7 separate regions of the Homo sapiens genome follow, and regions 1, 3, 4, 5, 6 and 7 are each linked to region 2. Evidence: promoter capture Hi-C in 16 types of primary human blood cells and fetal thymus (Javierre and others, 2016). All regions are on one chromosome and are shown on one strand. The core of a region is centred on a gene start or on the middle of the fragment in contact, and the rest is flanking DNA. Distances in the headings are between cores, read along the strand shown. Region 1 has its middle 9.7 kb from the start of RIF1. Region 2 holds the start of MMADHC (metabolism of cobalamin associated D). Region 3 overlaps RIF1 (replication timing regulatory factor 1). Region 4 overlaps RIF1 (replication timing regulatory factor 1). Region 5 holds the start of MIR4773-1 (microRNA 4773-1). Region 6 overlaps RIF1 (replication timing regulatory factor 1). Region 7 has its middle 8.8 kb from the start of ACVR2A.

Evidence for each region. Contacts are between HindIII fragments. The CHiCAGO score rates a contact against its expected background, and 5 or more counts as called.
Region 1: a contact is called between a fragment that was not itself captured here and the fragment with the promoter of MMADHC in region 2, in 12 of 17 cell types (naive B cells, total B cells, naive CD8 T cells and 9 more). The highest score is 16.5, in naive B cells.
Region 3: a contact is called between a fragment that was not itself captured here and the fragment with the promoter of MMADHC in region 2, in 1 of 17 cell types (total B cells). The highest score is 5.1, in total B cells.
Region 4: a contact is called between a fragment that was not itself captured here and the fragment with the promoter of MMADHC in region 2, in 3 of 17 cell types (total CD4 T cells, total CD8 T cells and naive CD8 T cells). The highest score is 11.1, in total CD4 T cells.
Region 5: a fragment that was not itself captured here is called in contact with the fragment with the promoter of MMADHC in region 2 in 9 of 17 cell types (naive CD4 T cells, naive CD8 T cells, monocytes and 6 more); the score reaches 9.9 in naive CD4 T cells.
Region 6: a contact is called between a fragment that was not itself captured here and the fragment with the promoter of MMADHC in region 2, in 9 of 17 cell types (naive CD8 T cells, total CD8 T cells, naive CD4 T cells and 6 more). The highest score is 17.7, in naive CD8 T cells.
Region 7: a fragment that was not itself captured here is called in contact with the fragment with the promoter of MMADHC in region 2 in 1 of 17 cell types (naive B cells); the score reaches 7.8 in naive B cells.

Annotation. Positions count from the first base shown.
Region 1 is chr2:151,398,295-151,402,018 of GRCh38, forward strand. No RefSeq gene overlaps it. Among named protein-coding and RNA genes, the nearest start is that of RIF1, 9.7 kb to the right of the region's middle. The HindIII fragment of the contact is 8,122 bases long and covers 1-3,724 here.
Region 2 is chr2:149,585,870-149,589,617 of GRCh38, forward strand. MMADHC (metabolism of cobalamin associated D) reads right to left here and starts at 1,906. Exons shown (of 8, transcript NM_015702.3): 1 at 1,795-1,906; 2 at 1,220-1,280. The coding sequence starts at 1,228. It overlaps MMADHC-DT (MMADHC divergent transcript), which reads left to right and starts at 1,489. Exons shown (of 3, transcript NR_110240.1): 1 at 1,489-1,981. RefSeq lists enhancers at 1,117-2,316, 1,633-1,952. The HindIII fragment of the contact is 5,011 bases long and covers 1,625-3,748 here.
Region 3 is chr2:151,470,250-151,473,692 of GRCh38, forward strand. All of the region lies in intron 34 of RIF1 (replication timing regulatory factor 1), which reads left to right. Among named protein-coding and RNA genes, the nearest start is that of RIF1, 62 kb to the left of the region's middle. The HindIII fragment of the contact is 2,183 bases long and covers 309-2,491 here.
Region 4 is chr2:151,451,267-151,454,690 of GRCh38, forward strand. It overlaps RIF1 (replication timing regulatory factor 1), which reads left to right. Exons shown (of 36, transcript NM_018151.5): 21 at 340-439. Among named protein-coding and RNA genes, the nearest start is that of RIF1, 43 kb to the left of the region's middle. The HindIII fragment of the contact is 5,678 bases long and covers 1-3,424 here.
Region 5 is chr2:151,365,986-151,369,665 of GRCh38, forward strand. TNFAIP6 (TNF alpha induced protein 6) reads left to right here. Exons shown (of 6, transcript NM_007115.4): 3 at 71-232. It overlaps MIR4773-1 (microRNA 4773-1), which reads left to right and starts at 2,349; the gene lies at 2,349-2,426. It overlaps MIR4773-2 (microRNA 4773-2), which reads right to left and starts at 2,426; the gene lies at 2,349-2,426. All of the region lies in intron 2 of LOC101929319 (a long non-coding RNA gene), which reads right to left. The HindIII fragment of the contact is 978 bases long and covers 1,340-2,317 here.
Region 6 is chr2:151,419,204-151,422,610 of GRCh38, forward strand. RIF1 (replication timing regulatory factor 1) reads left to right here. Exons shown (of 36, transcript NM_018151.5): 7 at 987-1,176. Among named protein-coding and RNA genes, the nearest start is that of RIF1, 11 kb to the left of the region's middle. The HindIII fragment of the contact is 1,722 bases long and covers 1,234-2,955 here.
Region 7 is chr2:147,834,424-147,838,005 of GRCh38, forward strand. No RefSeq gene overlaps it. Among named protein-coding and RNA genes, the nearest start is that of ACVR2A, 8.8 kb to the right of the region's middle. The HindIII fragment of the contact is 840 bases long and covers 1,065-1,904 here.

The sequences.
Region 1 (3,724 bases), core at 780-3,279, 1.8 Mb after region 2:
TTTAGGTCAAAATTCTGTTTTTTCCACAGTACAGTTAGAGGATTTTAATTTTTCAATTATATTAGTCTACTAGAATAGGCAGTTTAAGAAATATTTTCTTCAACCAGTGATCAAGAGAGAGTGATTAATCCTGCCTATGAGTAGCCCTGATGATGAAGTCAAATTGGATTTGCTTTCTTTTCTTGTTTTATTTTGTTTCATTTTTTCAAAGAGATTAGGTCTTTTTATGTTGTCCAGGCTGACCTCAAACTCCTGGGGTCAAGGGACCCTCCAACCTCAGTCTCCTGAGTAGCTGGGACTACAGGTGCATGTCACCGCACCCAGCTTCAAACTGGATCATTTTTCTAAAGTGCGTGATTATGTTCTTTCTCCAGAAGGCCTGAGCATAACAATGAGTTAGGCTTCCCTTTTGGCTCCTCAAGGTTCAGTTTTCATAGTTTTGTAGCTCTTGAACTTCTGAAAATTTTTGTTTTCTCTCCATGAATATATTTTAGATGGAGACAAAGAATTTGTGCCATACATAGTTGGGTTCTTTTGGAAACTGATATTTGTATTCCAATTACAATAAATTTAATAGTTGAACTATTTTATCAAAGTTATAGAAAACGTGTGCCTTGAACATAGCAGGAATCTCAAACTTTGGTGCTGCCAAGAATAATTTAGACTGCATATCAAAAATGTAGGTTAGTAGGCTTATCCTGAGAGGTATGGTCCAGATATTTACATATAAAGAAGCTAACCTGGGATTTTCTGACGCAATGATCCCAGAACCACACTTTCAGAAATATAACATTAAATTATTACTGATAGATTGTAGTCCCTTTTTTTAAGAGACAGGGAAGTCCAGGCATGGTGGCTCACACCTGTAATCCCGGCACTTTGGGAGGCCAAGGCAGGCCTATCATCTGAGGTCAGGAATTAAAGACCAGCCTGGCCAACATGGTGAAACCCCGTCTCTACTAAAAATACAAAAATTATCCGGGCATGGTGGCGCATGCCTGTAATCCCAGATACTTGGGAGGTTGAGGCAGAAGAATCGCTTGAAACCAGGAGGCGGAGGTCGCAGTGAGCTGAGATCATGCCACTGCACTCTATCCTGGGCGACAGAGCGAGACTTCGTCTCAAAAAAAAAAAAAAGAGAGAGACAGGGTATTGTTATGTTGTCCAGGCTGGTCTCAAACTCCTGGGCTCGAGCAATCCTTCCGACTCGGCCTCCCAAAGTGCTGGGATTACAGGCATGAGTGTCCCATATTTTTAATGTGGTCTAGGAAACCCATTTCAATGGAAAAGTGCTTCTTTATTTTTATTTTTATTTTTATTTTTAGATGGAGTCCTGCTCTGTTGCCCAGGGTGGAGTGCAGTGGTGCGATCTCAGCTCACTGCAACCTCCACCTCCTGGGTTCAAGCGATTCTCCCGTCTCAGCCTCCGGAGTAGCTGGGATCACAGGTGCCTGCCACCATGCCTGGCTAATTTTTGTATTTTTAGTAGATACAGAGTTTCACCATGTTGGCCAGGCTGGTCTCAAACTCCTGAGATTCTGATCCGCCTGCCTCAGCCTCCCAAAGTGCTGGGATTACAGGCGTAAGCCACTGCGCCCGGCCTGAAAAATGCTTCTTTATTTAGAAGGATTCATGGTTTTGAAATGTGTTGTTCTATTTAAACCCAAGAAATAATGTTTGAATGGCTAACATTTTCCTGAAGATTTATAGCACATGCCCACACACTGTTCTTAGCAAATTCCATGTATGTATTAACTTACATACTCTTCAGAAGCCTATGAGGTTAGTGCAACTACCCCCATTTTACAGATAAGGAAACAGGGGCATAAGAGGTCAAGTAACTTGCCACAGTCACACATTAGTCCCATAGCTAATAAGTGGTAGAGCCAGGATTCAAACCTTCTCAATCAAGCTCCAGGTTTAGTCATTACACTATGAACTCAAGAGGACTCAATTTTCGCACCTAAAAAGTAGTTTGGCCATAAATGATAGGAACTCTCTGCCCAACTCAATGGAGAGAGTGAAACTGTTTGTCTAGATAAGGCCTTTGGTCTGTTAAAGGACTAAAGCTCTGCTTGGTTAATACAATTTATTTTATTTTATTTTATTTTATTTTCAGACAATCTCACTCTGTTGCCCAGGCTGGAGTGCAATGGCATGATCTCAGCTCACTGCATCCTTCGCCTCCCAGGTTCAAGCAATTCTCTGCCTCAGCCTCCCAGGTAGCCGGAATTACAGGCGCTGGCCACCACACTCGGCTAACTTTTGTATTTTTAGTAGAGATGAGACAGGGTTTCACCATATTGGCCAGTCTGGTCTCGAACTCCTGAACTCAAGCAATCTGCCCACCTCAGCCTCTCAAAGTGGTGGGATTACAGGCGTGAGCCACTGTGCCTAAGTAATACAATTTATTTTTATCTTTTATTTTCTTATTTTATGAGATGGTCTCTCATTCTGTTGCCCAGGCTGGAGTGCAGTGGCACCATCTCAGCTCTGCAACCTCTGCCTCCTGGGTTCAAGCGATTCTCCTGCCTCAGCCTCCTGAGTAGCTGGGACTACAGGTGTGCACCACCATGCTCAGATAATTTTTGTTTATTTATTTATTTATTGAGATGGAGTCTCGCTCTGTCACTCGCCCAGGCTGGAGTGTGATGGCGCGATCTCAGCTCACTGCAACCTCCACCTCCTGGGTTCAAGCCATTCTCCCACCTCAGCCTCCTGAGTAGCTGGGATTACAGGTGTGCACCACCATGCCCAGCTAATTTTTGTATTTTTGTAGAAATGGGGTTTCACCATGTTGGCCAGGCTGGTCTTGAGCTCTTGACCTCAGGTGATCCACCCACCTCGGCCTCCCAAAGTGCTGGGATTATAGGCATGAGCCACTGTGCCCAGCATATTTTTGTGTTTTTAGTAGAGACGGGGTTTCACCATGTTGGACAAGTTGATCTGGAACTCCTGACCTCAAATCATTCGGTTGCCTCGGCCTCCCAAAGTGCTGAGATTACAGGCGCCAACCACCATGCCTGGCCAGTTAATACAATTTGATGACACTGTGAAATTTGAAAGTAAGGATAGACAATTTCATGCTAGTCATAAGGCATGTTATTAGCTATGTATATTCATTATATATGAACTAGTGATAGGATGAAATAATTATAAAAAAGTTTTTTCGTCTATTATCTGTTTTGTTGTTGTTGTTGTTGTTGTTGTTGTTTGTTTTAGACAGAGTCTCACTTTGTTGCCCAGGCTGGAGTGCAGTTGCACTATCTCAGCTCACTGCAACCTCTGCCTCCCAGGTTCAAGTGATTCTCCTGCCTCAGCCTCCCGAGTAGCTGGGGTTACAGGTGCGTGCCACCATGCCCGGCTAATCTTTGTATTTTTAGTAGAGATTAGAGATGGGGTTTCGCCATGTTGACCAGGCTGGTCTCAAACTCCTGACCTCAAGTGATCTGCCTGCCTCAGCCTCTCAAAGTGCTGGGATTATAGGCATTAGCCACCACACCTGGCCATGTATTAATTCTTGAAAAGTCGATCAGGGGATCAGTTAAAATTAAAATGCCAAAATAGACCTCAAAGTGTGACTTTCTTTAAAAAGAAAAAAAAAAGGGTGACTTTCTTTAAATAAAGCCAATAAAATAGTTATCATCTTGGGCAGTATTTCAGATGTCTCTCAGAACCCTTATAACTTCACATTTTCAAGGGTATTTATTGAAGTTTTTTTTAT
Region 2 (3,748 bases), core at 656-3,155:
GACTTATAAAAGGATCTTCCCTACTGAACTATTATAATTTATTCATTTAAACCAAAATAAAACCAGGTCAAATAATAGCATTCTATTCTACTTCAATTAATTTCTCTCCTTTGAAAGTACCACATACTTCTTTTACAGCATTCTCTTTCTGTGCAGGTTATGGGCAGGCAAAAATTCACCATAGAACTTGGCCAAGACTAGTAATCTATTCTTATGACTTGTCTCTATAGTCACACTTTAGACTTAATATACCATGTTCAATTACAGAAATAGCATCCTGGCTAAATGCTGCCATATAAATCTTCCTAGCACACAGCTCTAAGTGAATAATCACAATTTAAAGAATGAAGTCTAAATTACTGAGTTCGGCATTCAAGGCTCTCATTTACTTGGTACCAACCTCACAATTCAACCTTATCTCCCACTTATCTCTTTCATGCAGCTTACATTCAGGTTGGCAGGCAGCAGTCACTTTTCAGTTTTTCAAAGGGGTAGGCGGGTTGGGGAGTTCTTTGAATATACCTTCCTGTCCTTCCCGCTCATATTTTAGACTATACAAATCCCACCTATCTTTCAAACCTCAAGTTAAATGTTTCCCTCATGAAGTGATCCCAAACTCCTCTCCACAAAGACTTGAATCTGCATTGCACCTTCGTGTAGGTTCTAAAAAAAATTATTACTTTATACTTTAATTGTAGCTGTTTTTATATATGTCTTATGACCGCTACATATGAATTCTATAGATAGGATGTGTCTAATCACTGCAAAGTTACAGTCAATAAATATCTCTGGTGTGTGAGAGTATCTCCTATTCTTATTTTGTAGGATTTAGAAGGTCACTTCCAATATGGAAACTGTTTTAAAAAAAAGAAAAAAAGATTAAAAAAACCCTTCAGTTTAGCTAACCCAAAAGCTAAAAAAGGGCCTAAACATAGATTCTAATATTTACTGAAACGCTGTATTTAAAAAATACCGAAAGGGTGCTTGAATTTCCACATCTGTACAAATGAAATTGTATAAATAAGTGTATTTGCAGTGCAAAGAATGCTACCATCTTCAAAGCATAACATAATTTCACACCACTTGCTTCCCTTGACATTTTTGATACATTATATCTAACACTATACCACCCAATGCCATCATAATTAAACCCGTTCTTTCATTCCTAACATTCCCAAACGAGTTTACTATGCTGATTCTTAAGAGATAATTTACTCACATTGGCCATCTCCGCTGGAGAAGATAGTTCGCAAAATAGCTTTCCTTTGGTAAAGTTATTTCTGGGAAAGAACACAACAAAACAGACGAGTGATCGATTAAACTCTAACAACAGACAACTGAGGTAACGTCCACTCTTCGAAGGTGTGTCGTCCACCACGTCAGGACCAAAGTCCAAGCTCTCCCCGTACCCTAAGGAGGCCAGAACTCGCCCCCATGCCAGGCACAGATCCCCCAGCCCGGAGCCGGCAGTGCAGCTCAGAGCCCTTCCGGTTTACAGCCGCGGAAAAACAACTCGGACCAGATCCGGGAGGGGAATGGGGGCTGGGTGGCCAAAATTCAGTCCAGAGGATCGAAGCGGCTGCTTTAACAGAAGTTGGGGCTGCGTAACAACAGCTCCAAGCAAAGCTTCAGGCTGATCGGAAAGATGAGGAAGCAGAAAAGAGACTAAAGACAGACGGACAGGATGGCTGGGGACAACGACAGGGACCCAGTGAAAATACGGGCAATACCGAGGGCTGTAACCCTAACACGGGCAAATTTGGAGGGGCTAACATGGGCGGAAACCATCCGTACCAGTCACCACCACTGTCTCCAGCTGTCCCAGAACCGGACTCTTCCTGCCATCAAAATGGCGGCGGCGACGGCAGCGGTGGTAGCACCTACGCTGGCGGTGAGCAGGCAAAGGAAGTTGCTTCCGAGCGCGTCGAAACGATGATGCGCACGCGCAAAGTAGGCCTACGTGGAGCCGACCTGCCATTGGGTAAACGCAAGGGAGGAGAAAAGGTGGGGCAGGGGTGATTTGGGTGGATGGATAGGAGGGCTTCCGACCTGCGTTAGGCGGGTCAGTTAATCTTCAGTAACTCCTTGATGCGTTTGATAGTCCTCCCAACTTAAGCCTTCCTTACTGCCTCCAGGAGATACAGTCTTCTGTTCTTTTTGTCATAGTTGTTTATTTTTCATGAATCGCTGTTTTTGAGCATAGGGCACTTACCTCTTTCTGTGTCCCCAGCCCTACCACAGTGCCAGGCTCTCAATATGCTCGATAAATATTAGGCGATTGATTTGTAAATCGTGTATCATTTTCATGTATCTAATACTTTTTTAAAAATTGATTAAAGCCCATAAGCCCATATTTTATTCCAGATGTCCTTAGTTTTCGACCTGGTATTCTTTTCCATTCCAGGATCCTGTCCGGAGTACATCACCATGTCTTCCAGGCTCCTCTGGACCGTGACCGTTTCTCAAACTTTCCTTGTTTTTGATAACCTTAATAGTTTTGAAGCGACTTATTGGTCATTTGGTCAAATGTCCTTCAATTGGGTTTTGCCTGTATTTTTCTCATGCATTAACTGAGGTTATGGGTTTTTCTTGAGTTAAGAGGTAAGGTAAAGTGATCTTCTCATCACATCACATCAAGGGTATATACTATCAACATGACTTATTACTGTTGATGCTAACCTTTATCACCATTATTACAGTGTCATACAGAAAAGTTTTATAGTTCTACAAAGATCCCCTTTGTTTCATCTAGTAAGCCCTTCCACCTCCCTATGTAGGGTTTGTCAGGTTTCTCCACTGTGAAGTTACTGTTTTTCTTTTCCTCTCCATACTATACTATTTGGAAGGACATCTCTCTGTGCAGCCCAAACTATAGGAATGGGAAATTGTTATACTCCACCTTTATGAGGACAGAATATCTTCATGAATTATTTGGAATTCTTCTGCATGGGAGATTTGTCTGTACTGCATTTATTTATGTATTCAATCATTTATGTCAGTATGGACTCATGGATATTTATTTTACATTTTGGGTTATAATCCAATACTACTTTATTTTGTTGTTCATATTGGTTCCAGCTTTGGCTATTGAGATTTCCTTTAGTTGGCATTTGTGTCTTTTTGACAAACCCTCCTCGTTTTATGTTTATTGATTTTTTTTCTTGAGCATTTTCTTAATTTCTATAAGTTGCTCCAGGCTCATCTTGTATATTCCCTGCCCCAATCCTAGAATCAGCTGCTTCCCCAAAAAGCCAAGGGTACTTTTAATGGAAAATGATATTAGAAATCAAGATTTGGACATTTGGGATGTTGTTGCTTCTAGACACTCTCAGCTGACAGAGCAAGGAAATATTTGTGGATATGCTAACCTGACTAAATACGCATATCTGTAAGTATTTATATATGTATCCATCTGTATCTTTGACAGCTACACAGGCGTTCTAGGTTCAAATACTAGAGCTGTTATCTTCAGTTCAATTCCAGCACCATATGGATCATTGCAGCCTTCTCCCCTTGCTTGTCTGTAGCCTTCCACTCCAGTGTGAGACACCTGGCTCTCATCATCTGCCATCCATTTACCTAATTGTTCAATTCCAGGTTACGTGTATAATGGATTCAGAACCGTCAACCCGTATTCAGAGTACATGTATAGTTGTTTCTGAACTGTTATCAGGTATACCTGTGAGAAACAGATTTACCAATTAGAGTACAATGCTTATGTATAGTTCTTTTGCTTTTAATCTTATAG
Region 3 (3,443 bases), core at 150-2,649, 1.9 Mb after region 2:
ATGGGCATTTTTCAAGATTCTGATGAAAGCTAAGATTCTTCCCTGCTGTAAAACTATATAGAAAATTTTGTATATAATTTCAGAAGGATTCACAGACTACTGAAACCCATTCAGAGACCCTCTATCCATTGACACTACAGGTTGAGTATTCCTTATCTGAATTGCTTAGGACCAGAAATGTTTTGGACTTCAGATTTATTTCGATTTTGAGATATTTGCATTATGCAGCTACTTGCCAGTTTAGCAGCCCTAATCTGTAAATCCAAAACGCTCATTAGAGAATTTGGGCATCATGTCAGTGCTCAAAAAGCTTCAAATTTTGGATTCCATTCCATCCAAAAAAGATTCCATTTTTGGAGTAGGCATACTCAACCTGTATCAGAAGTTTTGAATAAATGAAAAATAGAATAAGCAGTGTTCTGAATCAGAATTTCTCAGACCTGGGGTTTGCCAGCCACTGAAGACTTCTGCTGTATTCTTGAAGGTCCTTGATTTTATATTAACTTATTTGTGATCTTCTAAACATTCATTAACTGGTTACTCAGAAAACCAATACTACTAGTAATTTTCTGTCTCACAGATTGAATTTAGTTTCTAAAGTATTTTCTTACTCAGTTTCCATGGGTCTTGGGAAAGTCTATGAGAATTAGGTTTTTTTTAACAGCTTCATTAAGATATGATTTACATCGTGTAAAATTCACCTACCCTATGGGTGCAGTTAGTTTTTAATATATTCACAGAGTTAAATAATATTCCCCATGATCTAATTTTGAATCTTTTTTTTTATCACCCAGAGAAGAAACACTGACCCATTAGCTATCACTCCTCATTTCCACTGTCCAGCCAATGCCTACTTTTCCTCTATAGATTTGCCTATTCTGGATATTTCATAAAAGTGGGGTCGTACAACTTGTGATCTTTTGTGAATGGCTTCTTTCACTTAGCATAATGTTTTCAAGGTTTATCCTCAAAAATTTCCGTTTTGAGGTTGAATAATTCTTTGTAGATTCTGGATATTAGCCTTTTGTCAGATGAGAAGATTGCAAAAATTTTCTCCCATTCTGTAGGTTGCCTGTTCACTCTGATGGTAGTTTCTTTTGCTGTGCAGAAGCTCTTTAGTTTAGTTAGATCCCATTTGTCAATTTTGGCTTTTGTTGCCATTGCTTTTGGTGTTTTAGACGTGAAGTCCTTGCCCATGCCTATGTCCCAAATGGTATTGCCAAGGTTTTCTTCTAGGGCTTTTATGGTTTTAGGTCTTACAGTTAAATCTTTAATCCATCTTGAATTAATTTTTGTATAAGGTGTAAGGAAGGGATCCAGTTTCAGCTTTCTACATATGGCTAGCCAGTTTTCCCAACACCATTTATTAAATAGGGAATCCTTTCCCCATTTCTTGTTTTTGTCAGGTTTGTCAAAGACCAGATGGTTGTAGCTGTGTGGTATTATTTCTGAGGGCTCTGTTCTGTTCCATTGGCTTATATCTCTGTTTTGGTACCAGTACCATGCTGTTTTGGTTACTGTAGCCTTGTAGTATAGTTTGAAGTCAGGTAGCATGATGTCTCCAGCTTTGTCTTTTTTGCTTCTGATTGACTTGGCAATGCGGGCTCTTTTTTCGTTGCATATGAACTTTAAAGTAGTTTTTTCCAATTCTGTGAAGAAAGTCCTTGGTAGCTTGATGGGGGTGGCATTGAATCTATAAATTACCTTGGGCAGTATGGCGATTTTCACAATATTGATTCTTCCTATCCATGAGCATGGAATGTTCTTCCATTTGTTTGTGTCCTCTTTTATTTCATTGAGCAGTGGTTTGTAGTTCTCCTTGAAGAGGTCCTTCACGTCCCTTGTAAGTTGGATTCCTAGGTATTTTATTCTCTTTGAAGCAATTGTGAATGGGAGTTCACTCATGATTTGGCTCTCTGTTTGTCTGTTATTGATGTATATGAATGCTTGTGATTTTTGCACATTGATTTTGTATCCTGAGACTTTGCTGAAGTTGCTTATTGGCCCAAGGAGATTTTGGGCTGAGACAACGGGGTTTTCTAGATATACAATCATGTCATCTGCAAACAGGAACAATTTGACTTCCTCTTTTCCTAAGTGAATACCCTTTATTTCTTTCTCTTGCCTGATTGCCCTGGCCAGAACTTCCAACACTATGTTGAATAGAAGTTGTGAGAGAGGGCATCCCTGTCTTGTGCCAGTTTTCAAAGGGAATGCTTTCAGTTTTTGCCCATTCAGTATGATATTGGCTGTGGGTTTGTCATAAATAGCTCTTATTATTTTGAGATACGTCCCATCAATACCTAGTTTATTGAGAGTTTTTAGCATGAAGTGTTGTTGAATTTTGTCAAAGGCCTTTTCTGCATCTATTGAGATAATCATGTGGTTTTGGTCTTTGGTTCTGTTTATATACTGGATTACGTTTACTGATTGTCATATGTTGAACCAGCCTTGCATCCCAGGGATGAAGCTCACTTGATCATGGTGGATAAGCTTTTTGATGTGCTGCTGGATTCGTTTTGCCAGTATTTTATTGAGGATTTTTGCATCAATGTTCATCAAGGATATTGGTCTAAAAATCTCTTTTTTTGTTGTGTCTCTGCCAGGCTTTGGTATCAGGATGATGGTGGCCTCATAAAAAGAGTTAGTGAGGATTCCCTCTTTTTCTATTGATTGGAATAGTTTCAGAAGGAATGGTACCAGCTCCTCTTTGTACCTCTGGTAGAATTCGGCTGTGAATTCATCTGGTCCTGGACTTTTTTTGGTTGAATAATATGCATTATATGTATATACCACATTTTGTTTATCCAGTTGACAGACATTTGGGTTGTTTCCACCATTTGCTATTACGAATAATGCTGCTGTGTCTGCAAGTTTTTATATGGATAGATGATTTCATTTCTCTTGTATATATACCTAGAAGTGGAATTGCTGAGTCATGTGGTTACTGAACTTATTATTTTCAGAAAGTTAACTTTCTGAACTTAGTATTTTCTCAATCAGTGGTCCATACGTCCTAGGAACACTTAAGAAAATTGTATCCTTTTTTTTTTTTTTTTTTTTTTAAATACAGTGTCACTGTCACCCAGGCCAGAGTGCAGGTGGGGCATGATCTCGGCCCACTGCAGCTGCACCTCCTGGACTCAAGCAGTTCTCCTGCCTCAGCCTCCCGAGTAGCTGGGATTACAGGCACCGTAATTTTTGTGTTTTTTGTAGAAGGGGGTTTCACTATGTTTGCCAGGCTGGTCTTGAACTCCTGACCTCAAGTGATCTACCCACCTTGGCCTCCCAAAGTGCTGGAATTACAGGGGTGAGCCACTGCTCCCAGCCAGAAAATTGTGTTCTTTTTTTTAAAAAAATTCTATATTTTATTTAAGCTTGGAAATCTCTGGTATAGACTTTTTTATACCACATTCTTAAACTTGGGAAATAGAATGTAATTT
Region 4 (3,424 bases), core at 96-2,595, 1.9 Mb after region 2:
CTAGAGTATTCAGTATAGTAACTACACACCTATACAGGTGCCTAGGCTATGTGTTTGTAGCTTAGGAACAACAGACTATATAGGTGTGTAGTAGGCTGTATCATCTAGGTTTGTGTGGGTACACTGTGTTCTCACAAGATGAAATTGCCTGATGACCCATTTTTCACAGTGGATCTCTGTTAAGCCGTGGGTGGCTGCACTTAATGTACTGTAAGCTGTGGCATGTGTGTTACATAGGATATATGGGAGTAACAGTCTTATATTTTTTCATGTTGCTTACTTTTGTTGAATACTGTCCCAGTACTTGAATGTTTCTAACAGTGGTACTTTCTTCCCTAGAATTTGTTGTTCGTGGATAGAATTATTTATATTATTACTGTAATGGTTGATTGCATTGACTTCTCACCATATAATATTAAATATCAGCCCAAAGTTAAATGTAAGTATGTATTTTTTAACCTTTGTTTGTCCAGTATTTCATAAGCAGTACTGAACTTTGCCAGGGGAAGTCCTAATACCTTTGCCACCTCATTTTACTAACTTTTGATCTTGTTTAACCATGTTAGTTACTATGCTAGGAGCTTTCATACATGTTCTCTCTCTTTTTTCTTTTTAATTTTCATATGCTCTGTATCATTCTCTTATCTCTATCACACAAAATTTCTTTACTCCTTTTTACAACGCAGAAAGATAAATACTATTCTAATTAGAGATTGCCTAATAGTACAAATGGTTTTACTCATTCCATCTGGTATGAAGGATTACCTGGACAAGAAACTTAGACATAACTTAAAATGTTTTTATTTGCAAGCCTGATTTAAAATAGTCATTGAATTGACATTATAATTTAAAAGAAAACAATGGGATCAGTTAATTGGTTATTTTTTTCCAGAAATGTTACAAAGTTTAACTCATCGTTTACCTGAAACATGGTAATTAAATGATTAAAATTGGACAATTGGGATCATAACAAGTTGCGTGATTTTTAAAACCATATGCCTTGGTTAGTTTTAAGTTATTTTGTAGCAAATAGTTTTTAAAATCTGTTAATTGATTCATTGAAGTCAGATATATCCACCTATGTTTATATGTTCTTACCATATAGGTAGTGATAATCTGTCATTAATGAAAAATGTTAGTTGATGTTGAGATATATTATTCTTGTTTAAAGATTAGGGACATAAAATTATCTAACAATAAGATTTGCCATTGATGAGTTTTCTAAAACATTCTTAGAATCTTTTTTGGTTTTTGAATTTTTACTAAGTAGCAATATGGAGTAACATGTTAAGCTCCTGAAGTATATTATAGGTCAGAGCATCCCGGCCTGAGTGCCGTGGAAATATAGGTTATAGATGTTCTTGACATACTGATCTTAGCTCTCCTCTTGGTCTGACCAGGACCTAATATGATTACCTCAGTGTGTCAGAAAAATAGGCTTATCTCTGAAAATCATAAGTTTACCAAGATTATATAACAGATGATGTCAGAAATTATAAGCCACTGAAGTTTCATAGAGCGAAGATGATCAGTCTCATTTTGACATAATTTTACCTATGTTGGTACTTCTGAAATTAGATTTAACCGAATATCCAATTCAGGAACCCACAGTTACAAATGTCTTTTCCACTCCGTGTCCATGCAAAACAGAGCCAGAGTTCTCTTGCTGTAAAATTTGGGTAATGGGGAGATTTTTAAAAGAAGTTGAGAAGAGGAAACAATGTTAAGACTAACCGAAAGGAAATTGTTATTATCAGGATCACCTTGGGATTTTTTGGTGACTTACATTGTGATGATTTCAAATTTAGAGAAATACTGCAAGAGTTTATGTGGAAACTTCGTATTCCTTTACTCAGGTTTCTCAATTAATGGTTGATTGCATTTATCTTATCTGCTCCCCCCTCCCCCCAGAATATACATTTTATTCTTTTTCCCTTCTGAACCATTTTAAGGTATAGTTTTAGACAAGTTGACAACCTGGAACAGTTCCTCAGTCTTGTCTTTTATGTCTTTCAAAAAACAACTTTAGGCTGGGTGCAGTGGCTCACGCCTGTAATACCAGCACTTTGAGAGGCCGAGGTGGGTGGATCACCTGAGGTCAGGAGTGCTAGACCAGCCTGGCCAACAGGGCTACAACCTGTCTCTACTAAAAATACAAAAATTAGCAAGCCATGGTGGTGCGCGCCTGTAGTCCCAGCTACTTGGGAATCTGAGGCAGGAGAATCTCCTGAACCCAGGAGGCAGAGGTTGCAGTGAGCTGAGATCATGCCACTGCACTCCACCAGCCTGGGCAACAGAGCTAGACTCTGTCTCAAAAAAAAAAAAAAAAAAAAAAAGGCAATTTTACTTTCTTAGAGTCTCTCAATCTGGGATTACCATATTGCTTTAAGATTAGATTCAGGGTCCATTCATTACTGGAGTACCACAGAAATAATGCTGTAGTTCTTTTTCAATTCATTATTTTCCCATTACTGGTGATGTTAACACTTCCTGTTTGTTTGAGGATGGCATCTGCCAGGTTTTCCACTGTAAGGTTAATTACTAAATACTTACTGTGGCACAATTATTGCTTGTTTCTCTAGATACACTTTCATTTACCATCTAATATCACATGGATTATGCTATTCATTCCTTTTCTGTATTTTTCTCTACTGTCTCTAATAGTGAGAAACCTGGTTTTCATTACCCTCAATGTATTTACAACTTGATCATTCACTTGTATGTAACCAGTCTCCTGACATAATGGCTGTCACCTCACCTCAGCATTCTGTCAGGGAATTTCTGGATATAGTTTTTCAGTGTACATAAATGTCTGAAAAATTGATTCCAAGGAGAAAGATCAACTTCCTTTTAGTAGCAACACTTGTTTTTCATGTTACCATATGAGATTAATTTTAATTAAGCATTCGTTTTCTGTTAAATTTGAGATCTCATTCCTTAAAAGAATGGATTGATTGAGAGAAACAAGTAATTTTGGAATGGGTAAATTTTTTGGGCAAGGGCTATGTGGGTTTATTCTTCTAGGTAGATGTTTACAGAGGGATTATCTAAGGGTACAAAAAATCAGACAGTACTTTTAGGACAAATCTTTTTCTTTATATCTAGGAAATAGTAGACTTACTGCATTCTTTCTCAGCTTTGTATCTCTGACTTGTTCAATGTTATTTGTAGGGATCAATGTACTATAGATGAGCAAAAAAATGGTCCGTCATTCTTAGTGGAAATTTTTTGTTTTTAAAACTAACTTTCAAAATTTAAATTTGGAACCTATCTTATGTAATTTGGTACTTTCTTGCATATTAGTTGTTGAAATTTTATGAAATGTAAAATTAAAGTTTGAGATGCATTTTATAATTCCTAAGAAAAAATGAACTTGTTTTTCTGGAATTCATATTCATGATCCGCCAAGTAGTTTTCGTCTCCC
Region 5 (3,680 bases), core at 579-3,078, 1.8 Mb after region 2:
TTGCTAAGATGACTTTTGCTTAGCCAAGACAGTTTACCTGTTTAGTCCATAACTCTTTTTCTTCTTGCAGGATTTCATGTCTGTGCTGCTGGATGGATGGCTAAGGGCAGAGTTGGATACCCCATTGTGAAGCCAGGGCCCAACTGTGGATTTGGAAAAACTGGCATTATTGATTATGGAATCCGTCTCAATAGGAGTGAAAGATGGGATGCCTATTGCTACAACCCACACGGTGTGTTAAAAATAATAATTTTATGTTTTGCAAAAACAGTTCCATGCTGCTAAGAGGTTGTTAAAAAAGAAATGGCTACTTTTTCCAGAAATAATTGATTTTGGTAATAATAACTACTACTAATAACTACAATTCATAAAGTGCTTATACTATACCCGACATTGAGTTGTGTTCCTTCGTCTACACTCTAACTTAATATTCACAATAATTCTTCAAGGAGCTATTGTTATACCTATTTTAGAAATCAGGAAATTGAAACTTAGAGAATTAAGTAACCCCAAATCAGGAGTCAATAATGATTAGGCAGATGGGACTGAGAATTCAGATCTTCTCTGTGCCAGGGAACTTCCCAGCCATAAAGAAAAAGAAAATAAAAAAGCAGATTAAAAACTTGTCACAGTAAATTAGCTAAAACAATAAAGTGATGCTACCAAATGGTAACTATTCAAAATTGTCCTTTTGATACAACGGGGAAAAGGAGACAAAGTAAACAAATAAATTCTTTCCTTAATTTCTTTTTGTGTATATATGCTAGTACTTCCAAACTAAGCAACTCTAATTCTATGGTTTAACAATTATATACTGTATATACTAGCTATCATTATACCATATATTTTTATTCATATTTTTTCCATGTTTGCTTGCAACTAGGAAATAATGAGAAAATTAACTCATAATTACTATAAAGAATTATTCTTAGGTCACGTTCTTGGAGAAAAAGTAGGCTGTTCTTTTTGGGTATATTTCCACCAGGACAATGTTACAAAATATTACAGTATGTTACAAAGTCTTCCTGGCATTTAGGATCATAAACATCCTCAGATGTGTCCCATTTGGATTTACCCTATAAGAAATTCCATAACACAGTAGGAGAGTTACATAGTGAGGTTTTAGTGTATTATTATAAAATCTATTATTTAATTATATTAACATTTGGAGAATAGTTTCTCATGTCTGTAACTAACCTATATCTCAAAATTATGTGTAGTCCAAGTAGAAAGATTTTTGCCTACAGCTACAACTAGTCTTAACTGAGACAAAATAGGAATAAATACTTAACAGTGCATTTATGTAACTTTAACTTTCAAGTCACTTTGACATGCTTTAAGCTTATTTAGTCCTATACTATACAGTACTAATTTAGTCCTATATTTAGTTATGTCAACAATATGTATCTTCCTTTCCTCCCTCCCTCTCTTACATTTTCTTAAATATATTTATGCAGACCACTCTTTTTTACTCTTAAGAGTAACTCTTCTTTTCAAATGTATTCTCTGATTCTTCTTTCACTTGATAAACTTTAGGATCTCTGAGCTTCCACTGGATAATTTCCATAGATTAAACTCTAGAGTCATTGAAGAAGTGCCAATGAAATGGTCCTTTCAGTATTTCATTGCCCTTTCATAAGAATATAATCCTAAATTATAAATTATTATAAGTTGCTTTCTTTTCTCAGAGAGGCTGAATACACTCTGGGAATACAGAATCCTGGGAGATTTGTTTTTACCCAATTCTCAGTGCATTTAGCTCGCTTTTGGATTTGGTGGTATGCTGACTATTTAGGATGTGGTTAACTTGAAGGAGACTTGACCGCCTGAACTAGCACTGGGGGAACAGCTCACTGAAACATCACTGGAATAAAAAAAAAAAATAATGGCTTCACAAAAATAAAGCAATCATTATTGATTAATCAATGTCACCAAGTTAGAGCTGATATTCTAAATAATAGATGAGGCAGTAACTAGATATAACATAAAATATAGATCTAAATAAATATAGCCAAATAGGCAGCCAAATTAGTTCAATATTTGAATTTTTTCTAATCTATTAATATATACAACAAAGATTGGATGCTATGGGATGGAACAACTCGCTCCTAAAGCTGGCAATGTACATCCTTATGCAGACATACAAACTATGTGTTGTATATTTTATTATACAGTAAGAATAGCTTATGGGTTGCATAACATCCTTAAATTATTTTCTGTATTTTATCCTTAGAATAACCCTGTGTGATAGATAATGGGAAAGGTATGGCTACATTTATTTTACCAATGAAGAAAATGAAGTGTAGAGTAGTCACCAAGCTTGAACTAGATCCTTGACCTTCATTTGTTGCTCCCCAGCCTTTCTATGCTCCTGTTCTGCTTTATTTCATCAAAGCAGAACAGGAGCATAGAAAGGCTGGGGAGCATCTTTTTTCTAGACATTAGACACTTACCTGATATGGAATTAAAATTAACCAGGGCTTCTTCCTAGCTTTCCCTCTAGGTCATATTGCAAACCACTGATTCTGAGACAGCGTTTTTGTTTTGTTTTATATGTGTTTGTTTTTCTTATGACAATTTATAACATATTGAAATCTGTTAAATGATGAATGACTTGGAAAAACAAACATGAATATCTCCATCAAATCTTAAAATATTAGGATTAGGGTATTAGTTTAAAATCAGTAAAGGCAGTATACAGAATAATTATAAATTATTCCTTTTAAGTGGATTAGAGTGACTTTAAAGTCTCTTGCGATCATGAAATTGTATAATGATTTTCCAAGCAGAATTTATGGGATCCATTATTCTAAGTGCTTGTGGCCCTGAAGACATATGGTGACACCACAGGGCAAAGTCCCTACCATCTTGATAGGGCTGTTTGTAATATAAATGTGTATATATTTGTCAAAATACATAGACATAGGCCAGGTGCCATGGCTCACACCTATAATCCCAACACTTTGGGAAGCTGAGGTGGGTCGATCACCAGAGGTCAGGAGTTCAAGTCCAACCTGGCCCACATGGCAAGACCCTATCTCTACTAAAAATACAAAAATTAGCCAGACGTGGTGGCTCATGCCTGTAATCCCAGCTACTCAGAAGGCTGAGGCATAAGAATTTCTTGAACAATTGCAGAGGCTACAGTGAGCCGAGATTGTGCCACTGCACTCCAGCCTGGGCAACAGAGTGAGACTCCATTTCAAAAAACAACAACAACAAAAAATAGGCGTGTGCACAAAAGACTTGTTATGTTATGCCTTAAAAGATAAAATAAAAATATTTTTAAAAGTACAATTAATTACATTACAATTCTTTTAATTTTAAAATTTATTTTTATTTTTATTTTTTAGAGCTGGAGGTCTCACTATGTTGCCCAGGTTGGCCTCAAACTCCTAGGCTCATGAGATTCTTCTGCCTCAGCCTCCCAATTAGCTGGGACTAAGGGTGAGCATCACTACACCTAGCCATTTTTTTCTTACTATATTTACTTTTTTAAAATTCATGGCTGGGCACAGTGGCTCATGTTTATAATCTCAGCACTTTCAGAGGCAGAGGCAGGAGGCTCACTTGAGGTCAGGAGTTCAATACCAGCCTGGGCAACATTGCAAGATCCATTTCCACACAAAAAAAATAAAAATTACCAGGGCTGGGTGGCACATGCCTGTCATCCCAACTAC
Region 6 (3,407 bases), core at 845-3,344, 1.8 Mb after region 2:
TTTAAATACAAGTAGGAGTAAACTCTAATGATAAAAATTATAGTGTAGGAGTAAACTCTAATGATAAAAATTATAGTGTAGTATATACATAAACCAGTAACTTAGTCATTTATTTTTTGTTTTTTTATTACTATTTTTTTTGAGACGGAATCTTGCTCTGTCACCAGGCTGGAGCGCAGTGGTGAGGTCTTGGCTCACTGCAACCTCCGCCTCCCGGGTTCAAGCAATTCTCCTGCCTCAGCCTCCCAAGTAGCTAGGATTACAAGCATGTGCCACCACACCCAGCTAATTGTTGTATTTTTAGAAGAGACAGGGTTTCACCATGTTGGTCAGGATGGTCTCGATCTCCTGACCTCATGATCCACCCGCCTCGGCCTCCCAAAGTGCTGAGATTACAGGTGTGAGCCACTGCACCCGGCCGGTCATTTATTATCATTATCATATAGTACAGTATTATGTTCTATATGTAAATGCGCCGTACTTTTATATGAATGAGAGCGCAGTAGATTTGTTTACACCAGTGTCATCAGAAACATGAATAATGTATTGCACTGCAGTGTTACAACAGCTATGATGTCACTAGGTGATAGGAACTTGTCAGGTCCCTCATAATCTTATGGGACCACCATTGTGAATGTGCTGCATCTTTGACCAAAACGTTGCTCTGTGGTGAATGACAATACTGTCCTTTTCATATTGGACTTGAGCATTATTGTGAGGTCCTGGAACCAATCCCCCAGGGATACTGAGGGATGACTGAAATGTTTCAATCTAAAGACAAGATTGGTTCTTTAAAAAAAATTTACAAAAGCAATAATGTGCAAATTCGTAAAAATAAGATCTATTTCTTGTGTGTATATGCATATTTGTATATATTCTAAAACAAATGGGCCGTACTGTGTATATTTCTGTTTCACCTATTTTACTGCTTGTTTAGACTTAAAACATGAGGTCACGCTAATTATTCATTGATTTCTCTATTATAGGCTAATTGAACAAGCCCCAATTCAAATGGGAGAAGAGGCAGTGAGGTGGGCAAAACTGGTCATACCTTTAGTGGTTCATTCAGCACAAAAGGTACATTTGCGGGGAGCAACTGCTCTGGAGATGGGAATGCCATTATTGCTTCAGAAACAGCAAGAAATAGCATCTATTACGGAGCAGCTTATGACTACTGTGAGTGTTCTTTTATGTAAGAATTTTCTGGATACTGCATCGGAAGGTTCTGCACTAAGCTTAAAATTCAGTCTGGTGGCCAGGTACGGTGGCTCTCACCTGTAGTCCCAAAGCGGGAGGCTGAGGTGGGAGGATTGCTTGAGGCCAGGAGTTCCAGACCCATCTGGGCAACATAGTGAAGACCCATCTCTACAAAATATCTTAAAAATTAGCTGGGCGTGGTGGCATGCGCCTGTAGTCTCAGATGCTTGGGAGACTAAGGCGGGAGGGTTGCTTGACCAGAAATTTGAGGCTGCAGTGAGCTATGATCTCACCACTGCATTCTAGCCTGGGTGACAGAATGAGACCCTGTCTCAAAAAAAAAAAAAAAAAAAAATCTGTCTGGGCATATTGGTATAGTTGCACTATGATATAGGATTTTAGCTTTGAATCAAAACCTTAAGAGTTGCATAAGTTAGCAAAGGCACATTGCTCATTACATAGTAGTAAGGAAGGGAGCTATCTATTGTTGCTAAAATCCAGACATTTTACTTCATTCCCAATAAATAGGAAATAGGAATTGTATTTCTGAAAGAGGGAGAGCATTAACTGATTGACTCATGTTTGGGTTGTTACTGTATAATCCCAGTAGATACAAATTTAATGTACATAAACTTACCTAGTCTCTATAGTTTTCTAGTTATTACTTGCCACAGGTTTTAGGTTTTCTAACCATTGTTGTTCTAACATATTTACTGGGCATCTGATATGTGCAGTGCATTGTTGCAGGCGCTGTGAATATAGCAGTGAACAAAAGAGGCTTGATGGAGCTTATTTTCTTGTGGGAGAGATAATTAAGTACATAGTGTAGTAAGTGAAGACCACTAAGGAGAAGAGCAAGGACCGGAGAGTGCTGTGAGAAAGGAATGTAAGGTGGTCAGAGAAGGCAAAGGAAAGGACATTTGAACAGTGATTTGAAGGCAGAGTAGGAGTTACCCATGTAGATAAAGAACCAGACAAGAGAACTATGAGGGCAAAAGGCCCTGCTCTAATGGTTGTGTACCTGGTTGGTGTTCTGGGAACTCTGGGCAGTATGACAGTAGTGGAGTGAATGAGAGTGAGAGGAAAAGAGGGCCCAATCACATAGGACTATGGCAGGGACCATTGTAAGGATGGATTTTTACTCTAGATTACATGGAAAGCCATATTTGAAGGTCTTGTTTTGTTTTTTGTTTGAGACAAGGTCTCACTATATTACCCAAGCTGGTCTCGAACTCCTGGGCTCAAGCAATCCTCCCACTTCACTCTCCCAAAGTGTTGGGATGACAGGCGTGAGCCACCACACCCAGCCCCTAAAACCTGGGATTTTACTTGCTTAAAATGCAGAAGACTTCGTGGTAATGTTCAGTATGACACAGTAACTCGAGTGTCTCATAAATAGCTTTATTCTGATGAATTCAATTTTAGTGACATATATAATTTTTTTTTTTTTTTCGAGACAGTTTCGCAATTGTTGCCCAGGCTGGAGTGCAGTGGCGCAGTCTCAGCTCACTGCAGCTTCCACCTCCTGGGTTCAAGCGATTCTCCTGCCTCAGCAGGAGTAGCTGGGATTACAGGCACCTGCAACCATGCCCGACCGATATTTGTATTTTTAGTAGAGATGGGGTTTCACCATATTGGCCAGGCTGGTCTCGAACTCCTGACCTTGTGATCCGCCCGCCTCGGCCTCCCAAAGTGCTGAGATTGCAGGCATGAGCCACTGCGCCTGACCATAAAATTCTTTCTTTAACCCATTTATCAAGCTTGCAACAAAGCATATATGAAATTCTTTATATAAATTTGAGCTAAAAATTATTTCACGTGTCTGTTGATTATGAAGCTATTAATGTATTTTTTCATTATTGTGAAAAAATACAGTGTCATTTAAACTAGTTAATGATATGCATGCTGACATTTTTAGGGTAAAGTATATTGGTAGAAAAAAAAAGTTGGATTGATGGATGGTAGGATGGCCAGATAGGTGATAAGACCAACATAGTAAAGTGTTAATGGTAGAATCTGAGTGTTTGTATTAGAGCATTTACTGTAAAAACTCACTCGGATTTGCTATATGCTTCAGTTTTCCTTTTGGAGTCTTTTGGGAAAATTTTTTTTTTTTTTTGAGACAGTCTTGCTCTGTCGCCCAGGCTGGAGGACAGTGGCACGATTTCTGCTCTCTGCAACCTCCACCTCCCAGGTTCAAGCAATTCTCA
Region 7 (3,582 bases), core at 235-2,734, 1.8 Mb before region 2:
CTCTATTGTTAGTATTTCATTTTTATCATTGTTTTTCAGATGTTGGACTACAATGTTCTAGGTGTATTTATAAACAAATTTATCCTGAATACAGATTGTGGAGCTTCTTGAATTCATGACTAGATTTCTTTCATTAGTTTTGTAAAATTAGTTGCCAACAGCTTTTCAAATGTTGCTTTTGTTCAATTAATGTTCTCCTATCCTTCTGGGATTCCAGTTACAGATACGTCAGAACTTAAATTGTCCTACATATCTCTTATGATCTCTTCTGTATTTTCTATCCTTTTTACTCTCTATCCTTAAATCTGAGTATTTACTATGTCCTTCCTCTCAATTCATTATTTTTTTTTTGCCGTGCTTGATCTACTATATACCCATATTTTAATTTATTATAATTCTTCTAATTTTGGTTACAGCATTTCCATTTGGCCCTATGTTTTACGTGGCTGGTAATTTTTTAATGAATGCTGGGTATTGTGAAAAATTGCAAAAACTCTCCATTAAGTTATCTTTTTCCAGAAAGAATATAACTTGCTCCATCAGTCGTATAATATATGGATTTATCATACCAATTTAGTCATGTTGGATTTCAGATTTTAGGGGGCTCATCAACTTCCAGTTTGTCCTAAATCTTAAAGCTTAGCCTTTACTTTGCAAAGAATAGTCTTCTTGAGTTCTCATCTGAAATCCTGAGGTATTTTACTTGGACTCTCCCTCCTTGGTGGTCCCCAAATTCCCATCTCTGGTTCCCAAGGTCTCCAAAATTGGCAAAATCTTGGCTAAACTCTTTAACCTCCAGCTTGCTCCTTTACCCTTAATTTCTCTACATTTCACCCTGCATAGTTGAGGAGTCAGCACTGCCTTGAAGGGATATTGCACAGAATTTTGGACTCCCTTTTGGTTTTCTCAACTCCTGGACCTTAGTTCCTCAAGTCTTAATCACTTTGGCACCTCAAACTCCAACATCTGTCTCCCTAACCCAGTGAAACTACATAAGCCCAGACTGCTACTTTCTTCTTAGCCTCTATTACTCGTGCCATGTATCTGCAAGTACCAAAGTGAAAAGCTTAGGTGAATGTGGGGCTCAATTCAATATACTTCTCTCCTCTCTGGGTTCTTTGTCCCCCCAGTACTGTCTTCCTTAGTTCCTCTCTAGTGGCTTCAAATAGTTGTTGAATAAATTATTTTAAAATAGTTGTTCATAATAGGAGAGTTAATGTAATACAAAGTATTCTATCATAGCCAGAAGCGGAAATAGAATTATTTACTTTTAATTTGCAATTTAAAAAGAATCTACTTTCAATAATCTTCTCATTTGTGGTTTTAAAATTACAGAGTCAAAATTGAGTGAAAAACAATTATGTACCTGGGTGGACTTGAAATAAGAGAAATGAGTCAGGAAGGCATTTATTCAAATAATAAATAAAATTTGTACAATTGCTATTTTTCTATGATTAGCCTAAATAACAAAGGGTAAATTGGATGCCTGAATTATCTTGGTGTTTATCTGATACAGCAAATTCACCATTCTGTGTAACCCAGGTCCAATGATAGCATTGAAAAACAATATCAGACATTCTTTTGGTTTTATAACTATAAAGTTTAGTGCTTTTTCTGTAACAGTTATTTTGTATTACTTTTCAAATTGATACCAGTTATTTCCTCTTTAACAAAAAGGCAAGTTTAACAGTTCTGTGGCCGGGGGGTGGTTTTATTTGTTTGTTTGTTTTTGTTTTTTGTTGTTGTTGTTGTTTGTTTGTTTTAACTAAGTAAAAGAAGTAGGTCTTTTTACTGTGTTGCATAGGTCTTCTGGATGGGACATGCTCCATTTAGAGTTCTTTTTCCTGCTTGAAGGAACAATTAATATGCTTACTACTTGAGAAACAGCATGGCTCATTGGACTAAGCTTTGAGTCAGTAGTTTGGAGTTATAATCCCATTTCTGCTACGGATTCAATTTGTGCCCCTGGGCAAGCCATTTAACCTTTGTATTTGTTCAGCAGAAAATAGGATAAAATTATTACTTCATTTCAGGAGTAGCTAATAATAACTGCTTTTGAATATAAAGAAATGCACATAATGTATTTTGACCAGTTAAAATCACTGCAAACATTCCTACAATTTAGTTTCCCCTAAAGCTTCAGTATGGCTTTGATTAAAATTCTTCTGATTTAAGTTAAAATGAAGCACAATAAAGTGCAGTTAAGTGTTTTGTTTAATTTGCATTCTTAAACAGGTGGGCAAATCCAGTGTAGTTAAGCCTAAGAAAACAAAAATTAAAAAAAAAAAAAAAGAAAAGAAAAAACAATCGCTCTTTCCTTACAGGCTTTAAAAAAAAAAAATGGTAAAAAGTACTCTATATCATTCTCTGTCACCAAAGTGCAAAAATTTACATTCATACCAAATAATATTAAACTTACACCTATTATTTTTCTTTTCTTATTTATAATTCTTTAGAAATAGAGTATTAAATAATAATTATTCCTAAAATGTTATGATAATTTTATCTCAGCACAGATTGACTCATCCAACACCCTGGATACTTTGACATCCCAATTCTTGGACCACCTCATCACCAGTGACCATTTTTTCTATCACTACTATGGTAACTCCCTGGCCATTGTCATTATCAGACACAATTCCTCTCCAAAACCTTGTTAATTTCTAGTCTCTGGCCATAGCTCCTATCCTTCTAGCTCACTTGCTTAAATATCTGCCAAGAAGCAATGGATCCTCCTACTGATGTCAGTTCTCTAATCCAGCGGTCCCCAACCTTTTTGACACCAGGGACCGGTTTTGTGGAAAACAATTTTTCCATGGGGGTATTGGATAATTTCAGGATGAAACTGTTTGACTCAGGTTATCAGGCATTAGAGTCTCATTAGGAGTGCACAATTTAGATCCCTTGCATATGCAGTTCACAATAGGGCTGGCGAGAATCTAATGCTGCTGCTGATCCCCGGAGGTGGAGCGCAGGTGGTAATGCTTGCTGGCCTGATGCTCACCTCCTGCTGTGCGGCCTGGTTCTTAACAGGCCACAGACTAGTATAGGTCTGCGATGTGGGACTTGGGGACTCCTGATCTAATCCATTCTCCTATCAATTCTTTCTATCCACATAGCCTCTTCTAGACTGTCCTTTCTTTTTGTCCAACTCAAATTCTGTGAGTCATTGTTCCAATGGCTCCCATATAATTCCCATAACTTCTTTACCCCTCACTTTCTCAAAATCACTTACTTAATAAATCCAGCCATGTAAGAACTCAATCATCTGCCTTCTCCGTGCCTGCCAACACCTCTACGTTGCAGAAAATAATCACACAGCTGGGTAGACTGGAGTCACCAATCTCAAATGGGCACTCAACCCTGGCAATTCCACTATAAAGCCTCTCTCTCCAGTCTCACTTAGGACTCTTTCATACCTTTTCATCATGCCCCTTTCACTTTAAGGTGAAAACCTTGCTTTACATGTCAGAGAAAAGAAGAGCCCTCAGCTGGGATTGCCATTATGCTCCAATGTTCGGTTCTGTAAACTCATCTGCTTCTGCAAACTCATCTGCTTCTGCTTGCCCTTCCTGCCTCAAA